Regions from separate parts of the Homo sapiens genome. Here all the other regions are linked to region 1. The links are contacts of gene promoters, found by promoter capture Hi-C in blood cells and fetal thymus (Javierre and others, 2016). All regions are on one chromosome and are shown on one strand. The core of a region is centred on a gene start or on the middle of the fragment in contact, and the rest is flanking DNA. Distances in the headings are between cores, read along the strand shown.

Region 1 (4,150 bases), core at 314-2,813:
TTTCGGTTAAAAATGTCAGTTCCCTCAGTTTTGTATTTATAACAAAAGTGCCAATAATTATCATGTTTTTTCTTACAATCTGCTTTTTCTTACGACCCAGAGAAAATAGATATGTTTGCACTACCTCTTATGCCAAGTCCAACTCTCTCTACCCTTCCTTCCAAAAGTAATTAGTCATATCTCTGGTGCCGACCAGTAGTTCAAGCTCTAAGGCAGACTCTCCTAGAGAAGGTTACACTAATGATAGAGGCTGAAAGAGGAGGATTCAGGACTGCCAAGGAAGTGAAAAATGTCTATCATGAAAAGTAAGTCACAGGTGATTAAAATTCAGAAACAGTTCCCTGCTTGTTGAGGTTTCTGGTTTGAGAAATAACCTAGAGATTAATAGGGAAAAAAAAAAGGGTGAAATAGAAAGACCCTTTGAGGGCAAAGAGAGTCTACAGGCAGCATGGAAGAGTTTTCTCCTAATATGCACCAGGAAGAATTAAATTGAATTTGACCTTCAGAACCCACCAACACATCTGGTGATGAAACAGGCACTGAGAAATAGGATGGGGATCCCAGCAACAGTCCATAAGAACATTTGGGAAGAGAAGCATCCTCTCTCTGTAGAAAGAAAGACACAAACATGATCAATCTTCCCTAAGCAAGGTACAAAAGAGATAGAAGAGATTCTTATTCATCCTTACTTATTTCCTTCTACTTCCATTGTTTGTACTGAGTAATTCCCAAATTTCAGCATGCTTCAGAATCACTTGGAGGGTTTATGGAAACACAGATTGCTGACCCTTACCCCCAGAGTTAGCAACTCAGTAGAGTTTGTATGGAACCAACAAGTTCCCAGGGGCTACTGCTGCTGCTGGTCTGAGGACCACACGTTTAGCACCCCTGGAGTAAGACTCTGACTCATGAACTCAGATATACAATTTTTCCTTTCTAAGTCTCTCAGTTAAATTTTTTTCAGTATTTTCTAAGGCCCCCCTTCTTTCTTTTTCTTTCTTTTCCCTTTTCTCGTCTTTGCTTTTCTTGTCCTTCTCCTGATCTTTTTTTTTTTTCTGTGTCTCACTTTTCAAGCGCTTTGTAAATTAGGTAAAATGTTAACAGTCATCTAATAGTTCCTCTCTTCCTCCCATTAAACATTTTACAGACAAAGAGAGTTCCAGAGAAGTGAAGTGACTTGCCAAAAGGGACACAATGTATTGCAGAAAGGGTGGAAACTGATAGCTCTCCCTTAGCTAGAGGCCAGCAGGCTTTCTGGTATAAGAAATAGTCTTTAAATCTCTCTCTCTCTCTTCCTCTGTCCCCCCACTTTTTTTTTTAACTTCAGTGAATACTTTTCTATTGTCCTGTCTTTCACCATATTTATCACTTGTTCCAAAAAGAGATCTATGGAAGGAAAGGAAGAGTTGCAGATTTTACCTGTGCATTGTGTTTCAGATGATTTAGATGAATTCATTTTTTCTCTCTCTTTGGTTTTTTGTTTCTCTCTCTCTCTTTTTCTCTCCCTCCCTCTCTTTCTTTCTCCTCAGGAGTGTTTTGTTGGTAAGATTCAGGGAGAATGAATCTTGAAAGATAAACACTTTGTCTTTTAGGAAGTTCAGCTCCGATAGATGTAGAATATTAACTTGTTCTGTGGCTACGCATTAAGTCAGGATTTCCTTTCTTGCATAAGGAGGACAAGGAAGTTTATTGGACAGCATGTCAGTTCTCTTCACTCCATGTAACAACAAAATGAGGAAATTATGAAATGGTAAGCATCAACACAAATAGGCTAGCCATGGGGAAACAGGAGAGTTTTTTTTTTAAATGTTGTTTCGTTTCGTTGGACCAAATGTCTCTAGTTTCTTCAAGGCATAACTCATCCCCCAGTTTTTCCTTGACAATATGGAGCTCACCTCTGCACTCTGAATTTCACTTTGGATCTGTACCATCCACACATTTGGTAACTGAAAAGAAGACTTAGACAACATAGCACAAAGCTGGGCATATAGTGTATGTATTTAGGACATGGCAACCTGAATTTTTTCATCTTTTTTTTTTTTTTTTTTTTTGAGACAGAGTCTCGCTCTGTCGTCCAGGCTGGAGTGCAGTGGCATGATCTCCGCTCACTGCAAGCTCCGCCTCCCGGGTTCAAGCCATTCTCCTGCCTCAGCCTCCCGAGTAGCTGGGACTACAGGCGCTCGCCACCACGCCTGGCTAATTTTTTGTATTTTTAGCAGAGACGGGGTTTCACTGTGGTCGTCAGGATGGTTTCAATTTCCTGACCTCGTGATCCGCCCGCCTCAGCCTCCCAAAGTCCTGAGATTACAGGCGTGAGCCACCGCGCCCGTCCTCTTTTTCATCTTTTATGGTTTTTCTTTCTTCTTCATTTGCAGCTCTTGAATATTCTAATGTTGTGGATTTATGTCCCTCTTATCTTATGCTGACTACTAGGCTGCTACTACTAGGCTGACTACTAGAGTCCCCCTCAGCAGGACAGCCTCATGTGATTAGACCACTTTGAAACTCAGCTTAGTTTTTCACAACATAACGCAGCTTCTGAAGTCTCAGAGACCCAGCAGGCAGTTTAATTCTCCTGTTCTCAATTATTTGGGGATTTTAGTTCTATGTTACAGCCTACAGTAGGAGAAATGTATTTGAAGGTCAGAAAAAGCAATTTCAATTAGATATTAGAATTTAATGGTTCTCTGGGCCGGGAGCAGTGGCTCATGCCTGTAATTCCAACACTTTGGGAGGCCAAGGTGGGTGGATCATTTGAGGTCAGGAGTTTGAGACCAGCCTGGCCAACATGGTGAAACCCCACCTCTACTAAAAATACAAAAATTAGCCAAGTGTGGTGGCACGCATCTGTAATTCCAGATACTTGAGAGGCTGAGACAGGAGAATAGCTTGATCCTGGGAGGCAGAGGTTGCAGTGAGCCAAAATTGCACCACTGCACTCCAGCCTGGGCGATAGAGTGAGACTCTGTCTCAAAAAAAAAAAAAAAAAAGAATTAATGCTTCTCTGGAAGAATAGTTAGATATGTGCCTTCTCCTTACTTAAAGATACTTAAGAATAAGATCACACTGGTCTCAGTTTATTTAAGTTCACGAGTCAGGAGGCATAAGTATGATGTACATGACTTGGTAAATCCCCACATCCAGTGACTCACGAATTTTCCATGTGTGAGAAAATATTCTTGTTCTCAAAGGGACTTTTTATTATTTCAAGGTACTGGTCAATTTTCTCTGCATTCTCTGTTTTATAGTAATACAATTTTAAAAATATCTTTAAATTATATATGTGTATATTATAGAATATACCCATATTTAATATGTGTATTCTCAGCAAATAGCTTTTGATCAGTAAAAAAAGAGAAACTATCTAGTGGATGAGCTATATGAATTATAAAATGATGAACATAATTACCACAGTCCATCTTTTATTAATTACAATCAACCAGCAACCATCAATATTACTAAACAATTGTATGTTAATTTTTATCAATATACAATTAAACAGAAATCAATAAATTAATATTTTTTCCAGCCAAAATGTTTTTATATCTTTTGTTTCATTGATTTTCCCCAAATTATACGAGTAATATGTTTTATGATTAATACTATGAAAAGCATGTGACAAGTAAAAGCCTTCTTAACTATCCTTAGTGCATTCTTCTAAAGTTGACCATGCTTAATGATTTCTTTTTTGGGGGGGGGGATTAATTTTTATTTATTTTTATTTATCTTTTATTACACTTTAAGCTTTAGGGTACGTGTGCACAACGTGCAGGTTTGTTACATATGCATACATGTGCCATGCTGGTGTGCTGCACCCATTAACTCGTCATTTAGCATTAGGTATATCTCCTAATGCTATCCCTCCCCCCTCCCCCCACCCCACAACAGTCCCCAGAGTGTGATGTTCCCCTTCCTGGGTCCAAGTGTTCTCATTGTTCAATTCCCACCTATGAGTGAGAACATGCGGTGTTTGGTTTTTTGTTCTTGCGATAGTTTGCTGAGAATGATGGTTTCCAGCTTCATCCATGTGCCTACAAAGGACATGAACTCATCATTTTTTATGGCTGCATAGTATTCCATGGTGTATATGTGCCACATTTTCTTAATCCAGTCTATCATTGATGGACATTTGGGTTGGTTCCAAGTCTTT
Region 2 (3,734 bases), core at 752-3,251, 520 kb after region 1:
ATTTGAGAGAATATTGCATAATAGAAAAAAACATTGTAAAGACTAAAATACTAAATAAGACCTTTTTTTCCCGAGCAATAATTTGCCCAGGCTGGTCTCAAACTCTTGGCCTCAAATGATCCTCCTGCCTTGGCCTCCTAAAGCATTGGGATTATAGGCATGAACCACTGCTCCTGGCCAGAATTCTTGATTAAACAATAGGGTCTAAATAAATTTAAACCCCTTTTATTCTTTTTATTCTTACAGGGTAGACTCAAATATTCTATTTCTTTCCAACTTTATATTCTTGTCATAACAACCCAGTATTCTCTGAGGCAAATGGATGCTTATGACCAACTGGCCTGAAATGGGGGAATATAGGGTTAGTGGTGAGTCACATATAAGAAAATGCAAGAGAATAGCAGTGTATCATATTTCAAAATAAAATACAAACTATACATAAAACTGACCCCAACAAGTATCCATTTCATTTCCTGTCGTGTATCTATATGCTTTCCTGGAAAGAATAAACTTCAGTTCACAAAATCAGATGTAGAAGATACATCACTTTTAAAAATTCTACGTAATTTTAATTCCAAGATTCCCATGCCACCAGGCTGGTGGGAAATCCAGTTTAAGTTGTAATTAGGCCTTTTCTCCAGTATTACATATGAATTTGAGTGTAATACCCCAAAACTTGAGAAGGCCATTGTATCTCCAGTCCACTGGGGCAATGAATAGCTTGAGCACCTGATCATTATAATGACCCAGATGTGTATCTTTTTCTTTTACTCTGCGGTGAGTTTTTCTAAGGGAGGAATCCTATTTTGTTTAATTTTGTATTATAGCATGGGATATTGTGCCTGGCAGATAGTAGGCAATCAGTTAGTATTTCAGGAATAAACACTCTTGGTCAGTGATACAGCTAATGATTTGCAACAAGCATATCCTTAAAGTACCTTTTCAGTAACGATTTCCATATGAACAAAGAAAAAAACTAGAACCAAGAGGTAAAATTATAATCCTGTTGTCTTGTTCCCATAGCCATACTCTGATTTCTTTTATGTTCTGTGCCCTGGCTTGATACTTAATTTGACAGCTAATTATAATGTTTATTAAGCTCTGAAATATACTTTCTCCTGGCCTTTTTGTCTGAAGTTGTTTGAGGTGTCACCATGGTTGGAAGTTAAGAGCATGGAAGCTAGACTTCTTGGTCTTGAATTCTAGCTTTGTCACTAACTTAGTAACTTTGGGCAAATTACATGTCTCTGCTTCAATTTCATTTGTTAAGGTAGTACCTATTTCACAAGGCTGATGGTGGCAGCAGTGGGGCGTCCAGAGCTGCCGCTGCCATCACGCCAGCTGCAGCAGGGAGGGGCGGGCAGCGGCGGCGGAGCAGCTGCGGGAGCCGCAGTGGCTGCTGTGGGACATCTGTGCCTCGCGTCCCCTGTGCCTTGAGACCCCAAAGCAGCCGACTGCGCCGCCACCATCCTCGCGTTGCCGGGTGGGGCGACGTGCTCCCCGGCCAGGAGCCTCCACCGCTCCGGACCCTGGCCCTATGTCGCCGCTCTCGCCCGCCGCCGCCGCGGAGTGGGAGTGGGGAGGAGGGGAACAGTCCTTGGAGCCGGCCCCGGGAGTACTCCCGGAGCCTGCCGCCCTGGAAGCCGCCACGATGGACCGGGCTGAGTCGCCCGCCGGAGGGGAAGCAGTGTAGTCGGGCACGGAGGGGCAGGCAGAGAGGGGCCCCAAGGCGGAGCTGGGTCCGGGGCGGAGCGGTGTTCGCACACAAAGCGCTGGGGCTGGACCCAGGGTTCGGGGCCAAGGCGAGAAGTGGGAGCGGGGCCCGCTTTGGGGACCCGGACAGCGGTGTGGCCACCGCGCACACCTCCGACAGCGCCGCATTCCTGGGCCTTGGGAGGAGGCTCTGAGTAGGGCCGCCTGGGGCGCGTCTTCAGGGTCCTCCCGGCACTGGGGTGACCGCCGAGCTAGACGCGCCTGAGGGCTGAGCCCCAGGGCTCGTGATCTGCTCCCGGAGGCGCCCCCCAGGCAGGGCCGTGAGCCGGGCGAGGGAGAGTCCTGGGCTGCCCCTGAGCCCCGGGGCCACGGGAAGAACTTGCAGCGACGTCATCCCTGCCCCGGACACAGTCCCGGGCCCAGGGAGGACCTGGAACATTCCCTTCCTCCCCCCCCCCCCCCCCGCCCCCGCCCATCAGCCCAGCCTGCAAGGAGGCGCCACCGGACCTGCACACTCAGGAGCAGGTGAGCCAGGGACAAGCAGGAGCCCCGCCCCTTCCGAACTGGTGGAGCAGGAGCTCCCAGGGTGCAGCTGCAGCCACCTTGCCGCGGCTGTGGACATTTTCTGTGCTCTCAGAGGCCCAGCAAAGTCCCCTGCCCACTGCAGGCTCCAGGGTGCCTACTCCGGCTGCCTGGCTTCTCTCCACTGTTAGCACCCACTCTGAACTCAGAGCAAGGTCGGGCCGAGCCTGGGTACTGTCACAGCCTGGCCGAGCGTGCACACGCTCAGGACAGTGCTGATACGCCAGCCCCCTGCCGTCTCGGCCCCCTTTGGAACTTGGGCACCAACAAGCGTGGGAGGGAGGCTGAGAGGGGTCTGAAGACAGCTGGACACTGACTTGCAGGCGCTCCTTGGCATGAACAGCCTGGGAGCAGGAGGCAGACAGGTTCCTGGGTGGAAGGGGATGGGTCCCCAGTGAAGTCCCACCCTCAAGCTGGTGAGGGCTTGAAGCCTGCAGACCAGAGAGGTAACTTGTGGTGCTGCTCCCTGGGCCCACTCATGGCTGCCCATGGACCAATCAGCATGCATTTCCTCCCTCTGAGGCTCATAAAATCCCCCAGACTCAGCTAGATTGGAAGAGAGGATGGGAAGACAATGGATGACCTACCTGTGGAGAGAAACTACCCATTCCAGAACCTCCTCTCTGCTGAAAGCTGAACACTCAATGGGAAGACCTGTTTGCAGAGAGGAGCCAGCCACTCCAGGGTCTCCGTTCTGCTAGAAGCTGAACACTCGTTGGGACACCCTTGCTGTGGAAAGGACATCCTTACTGTGGAAATGAGCTACTAACTGCAGGTCTCCTTCCTCTTCATCTTCCTTATCCTTCTGTTCCATTGCTCAGTAATGCTCCTCTTCATCTGTCTCATTCTCCACTTGTCTGCTTGATGCAGGAGCTGAGGAGCTGCACAGCAAGGTTAAAAGAGCTGTAACACAAACAGGGCTGCAACATGCCCCTTGCTCCCCACAGGGAGAGAAGAGCTCTGGCCCTCGGAGAAGCCCAGACCTGGGAGCTCCTTGAGCCCGGGCTGTGACTCCCTCTTTGGGGCCCTGGTTGGCGTCACTGCATTCGCCAGTGCCACTGTTGGAAGCTGCTTGTGATGCGCCTGGTCCAGGGGGAAGCTGTTTGTTGTGTGCCTGGTCCAGCCACCTCATGGAGAGCCTGTGCTGGCACCTGGAGCTGCCCAACCTGGGCAGCAGCTTGTGTGTGTGACTGCACAGTGGCCACGCTTGCTCACACACCCCTAGCACACCCCTCTGCTCCACCCGTCTCAATCTCCCTTGGATCCGGGATCCAGGTTGGTAGCAAGTGCGAGTGGGCAGAAGCAGCCCAGTGGGCCCAGAGCAAAACTCAGGCAAAGGTGCCACTAGACTGGCCAGGAAAGCGACACCCTAAAGATCCCATAATGCTGATATGTTAATTCTATTCTATAAGCACCACACAGAAGTGATAGCTTTTATT
Region 3 (3,974 bases), core at 84-2,583, 560 kb after region 1:
GGACACGATGGCATTTTCTTAGGTATTATTAGTGGAAACAAAATGCTCCAGATCTTCATATAATACATACAACTTTAACCGTAAAATTCTAGGCATGATGCTTTCAAGTCCATTTGAAGGTGAGAAGTAAGACAGACATAAAAATTGTGATAGTTACATTGCATTATATTCGTAGGAGTTTAAAACTGATTGACAAGAACAGATGAGCAAAGTGAGTGGTGTGATGAAATTAGACACTTTCTCAAAGTATCTTAACATTTCTCATTTCCTCTCCCTGCTTTTATTGTGGCATATTGCATAATTATTGTCTGTCTCATCTATGGGACAGACAATGTAAGTTCCATGAGACATACATTTTTATCTTTCCAGTAGCTCACTGCTTGATCTCTACTAGCACTTAGTATAATACCTAGAACACAGTGGGCATTAAATAAATGTGTTGAATGAATGACCTACACTAGTAGCAGCAAAGTGTTTCATTGGTAAGACACTAATCAAAGCTTGAGAAGAGTTGGTGTTTTAACTCAGGTCTACTACTAAATCCCTGAAAGCTTCTGCTTTATTATTAATAAATAGGACTGTCTGCCTTATCTACCCATCAGGGTTGTTATAATTTGAAAAATTCTTTGAGAATTATAAAATTATATTATAAAAGTATAAAACATGTATATTATTTTCCCACATATCCTCTTGAGATCCTACTGTTGAAATGTACTTGATGCTTCCTTTAGAAGTATTCTAATATTTTCAGTTAAAATCCCATTAGAAGGACAAACAAGTAAGAAACATTTTTTTATAAGTTTCTATTTCAGGAAAATAAAAATATAAATTTCTCTTTGTTAAATTATGGTAGTAGAAAAAGCTTCAGTAAGAGGTTATTACAATTGGTCTCATATTAAAAATTTGAAGATGTGAGCAAACTACTATTAGTACATGCTATTAACTAGTTTTTGTTGTTCCAATTCAGCATATCCTTTTGGTATTTCTTCTATTAGCTCCATATTTTCAAAGAGTTCAGTTATCAATGTCAATTATATAGTAGTTCAATTTCCCTAAGTTTTGTTCCTCAGAGATAATACATATGTTCCCTCAGAAATTATGTGTAGCTTGGGACAGCAATTATTTCAACTGATGTAATTCTTTTTTTTTTTTTTTTTTTGACACCAAGTCTTGCTCTATTGCCCAGGCTGGAGTGCAGTGGCACGATCTCGGCTCACTCAACCTCTGCCTCCTGGGTTCAAGTGATTCTCCTGCCTCAGCCTCCTGAGTAGCTGGGATGACAGGCGCCCGCCACCACGTCTGACTAATTTTTGTATTTTTAGTAGATACGGGGTTTCATTATATTGGCCAGACTGGTCTCAAACTCCTGATCTCAAGTTATCTGCCTGCCTTGGCCTCCCAGTGTTGGGATTACAGGCGTGAGCCACCAGGCCCAGCCATAATTCTTATAAAAACGGAAATCTGATATTTCATTTAGCCTGTATAGCCTCAGTGCAGGTATATGTATCACTTTTGTTAGGCTTTTTGAAATGTTGAAACTAGTTTGACAACTCCTATTACTGGTTGCATGGAGCTCTGGGATTTTAAGGACTTTGGGTACTGTATGGTCTTTTTACATTTTAAATATATAATTTTCGAACGGCTTCCCCGGTTGCTCAGTTAATCCTTTCTTTTATTTTGCATAACTGCACTTCTCATATAGCACTTTTCACAATCTGCTCTGTATTCTCTCCAGCCTTGCATATACGGATGTCCTGACACAATCAGAAGATTTGAATTTGTATTGCTATGTGCTCTTGAGCAAGAAGCTTAACGTGTCTGAATAACGAGTCCTTTTTTGGTTGTTAATTTTCATCACATTTTGTCCTTTTAAAAATTCTTTTATTTGATTCAATATATTGTATTTTGTTTATTTTTTTAACTGCAGAAGTGAGTAGTTATATATATATATATATATAATTCCTTACCAATGAAAGCCCACAAGAGAGCTCAAAGCAATTAATTCCTAGATAAATATAATTTTAATTGATCTTATCCTACTTATCCAGTCATTTTTCCTTGCTCTGAGCCCCTGGCACGGCCCTTCTTGATTCCTGAGGCTGCCAGGAACTCACCGAGGACGCCGAGAGCTCAGCATCAGGCTTCATGAGCAGCACGCTTTGGTCCACAGCACGGAGGGCGCAGACGGACTGAGGAGCCGCTGTGACTCGCAGGTGGGCGTGTGAGGCTGGGAGACTTTGTGATGGGCTGAAGCTCAAATCCACCTGTGAAATTGGAACAAAAGGTCAGAAAAGCAAATTTCCAGGTTTACCCATGCATTCACTCGCATTTGCAGAGTGTTCCTCATGTACAATGTATAACCACTCTGCTTGACTTCGTGGAGGGTTGGCATTGTGTCAATCCTGAAGCTTTTTGTTCCCTACACTTCTCTTTCATTCTCAAGAATCACTTGAGCCAGTAGAATTATTTCTAATTATTCTTATAAATTACTAGTCATGAAATGCCATTTTTATCTTTGATACACGGCAAGGTGCTCATTAATTGTGGTGGGACATGCATGGGTCTAGGTGCTCTTGCATTTTTCTTTTGGCTCCTTAGTAGTCTTAAAAACTTGCTTACATATTTCCCAACGTTTCATCATAGAAGAAGGGAATAACATACTCTGAACTGTGTAATTGGTAAGAGGCACTGCTAGGAGAAGTTTGAGAGTTTTGTATAAGGAATCAAGTGATTCTGCTTCTTAGTGTGACTCTGCCACTACCTTGCTGAATGTCTCTGGGGAATTTGTTTAACCCTTTTGGCCCTAATGTTCACATGTGTAAAACAAATGATAACAATAGTAACTTCTAGTTTTACATGTTGAAGATTTTATGATCTAAAACACACACCTTGTTGGCCAGACAATTTTCAACATCATATTTTGCAGAATCCCCAATCACGTCCCCGGTAGGTAAAACAGCATAGATGAGCAACCGAGCGACAGGAGCAATGTCTGACTTCACAGGGATTGAGATGGAAAAATGGCCCTTCACTGGGGCACAAAGAGAATGAGAGGAAGCCATCATAGGTTAATGACTATTTCCATTAGTAGATGTAACAGACATAATAAACAGTAGATGTAACAAATGGATGATTACCTCTAAGGACTCTAGCTTTAGAAAAAAACCCTATCAAAGCCCTCTCTCCTCTCATAAATCATATACTCTGTTGATTTTTCACCAGCTTTAAGCTTCAGCTCACCCACCTAATGTTCTGATGCTAGTTAAGGGTATGAAGACATCCAATTCACTACCATTTGATCTAGGCCTCATACTAGAAGAGGGAAATAGAACCTGAAGTTATGAGATGTAAGAGTAAGAGTTCAACACATTGTATTCATGCTACATGCTCTTTAACCTTCTATGAGCCAATATTTGGTTCTTTCTCCATAAGAGGAACACCATGCTCCTTCAGAAGTTATTTTTTGATGCCTATGTAGATTCTTTAGAGGTTGCATTAAGTTTCCTTCAGTCTGCTATGGTGCTTCTGTGTTGCTACAAGAACTAATGAGAGAGTAGATTACTGATACTTTTCTAGCAAGTTATCTTTTAGAGTCTACTAGACTAGGAGCAACCTTCAAAGGTTTATATTATGACATATTTGCTCATGGCAAGAGTCCGCTTCAGTCGGTAGAAGTACCCAATTTAATGCTTCATAAATCATAACTATCTTGAAAGGGAAAAAAGATATTTATAATAATATAAATGACATAAATGACTCAGCACAAGACCTGGTATATACAACATACCTTGAAATCGTACATTTTCTCCACCCCATTCTCTAACACAATTCTCATTTTGAGAAGAGGTTCAAGAATATTTATGGTTTAAAAATCTGGAATAAGCATAGATTATACACAACAATATTTTATGTATTTTATTTTTCCCCCTTTGTTCTTATTTATTTATTTATTTATTTATTTACTTTTATAGAGA

Evidence for each region. The method cuts DNA at HindIII sites, captures the fragments that hold promoters and counts their contacts. A CHiCAGO score of 5 or more calls a contact.
Region 2: a fragment that was not itself captured here is called in contact with the fragment with the promoter of CLEC4E in region 1 in 2 of 17 cell types (total B cells and erythroblasts); the score reaches 5.1 in total B cells.
Region 3: a contact is called between a fragment that was not itself captured here and the fragment with the promoter of CLEC4E in region 1, in 4 of 17 cell types (erythroblasts, total CD8 T cells, non-activated CD4 T cells and 1 more). The highest score is 7.0, in erythroblasts.

What each region holds. Positions count from the first base shown.
Region 1 is chr12:8,539,342-8,543,491 of GRCh38, forward strand. CLEC4E (C-type lectin domain family 4 member E) reads right to left here and starts at 1,564. Exons shown (of 6, transcript NM_014358.4): 1 at 1,420-1,564; 2 at 514-606. The coding sequence starts at 1,456. The HindIII fragment of the contact is 5,761 bases long and covers 1-3,742 here.
Region 2 is chr12:9,062,991-9,066,724 of GRCh38, forward strand. It overlaps LINC00612 (long intergenic non-protein coding RNA 612), which reads right to left and starts at 2,080. Exons shown (of 3, transcript NR_034140.1): 1 at 1,278-2,080. A2M-AS1 (A2M antisense RNA 1) reads left to right here and starts at 2,187. Exons shown (of 2, transcript NR_137425.1): 1 at 2,187-2,238; 2 at 2,836-3,734. It also overlaps a transcript of KLRG1 not described here. RefSeq lists silencers at 1,416-1,465, 1,526-1,575. The HindIII fragment of the contact is 7,774 bases long and covers 1-3,734 here.
Region 3 is chr12:9,096,493-9,100,466 of GRCh38, forward strand. A2M (alpha-2-macroglobulin) reads right to left here. Exons shown (of 36, transcript NM_000014.6): 14 at 2,889-3,031; 15 at 2,115-2,264. It also overlaps a transcript of KLRG1 not described here. Among named protein-coding and RNA genes, the nearest start is that of A2M, 17 kb to the right of the region's middle. The HindIII fragment of the contact is 946 bases long and covers 861-1,806 here.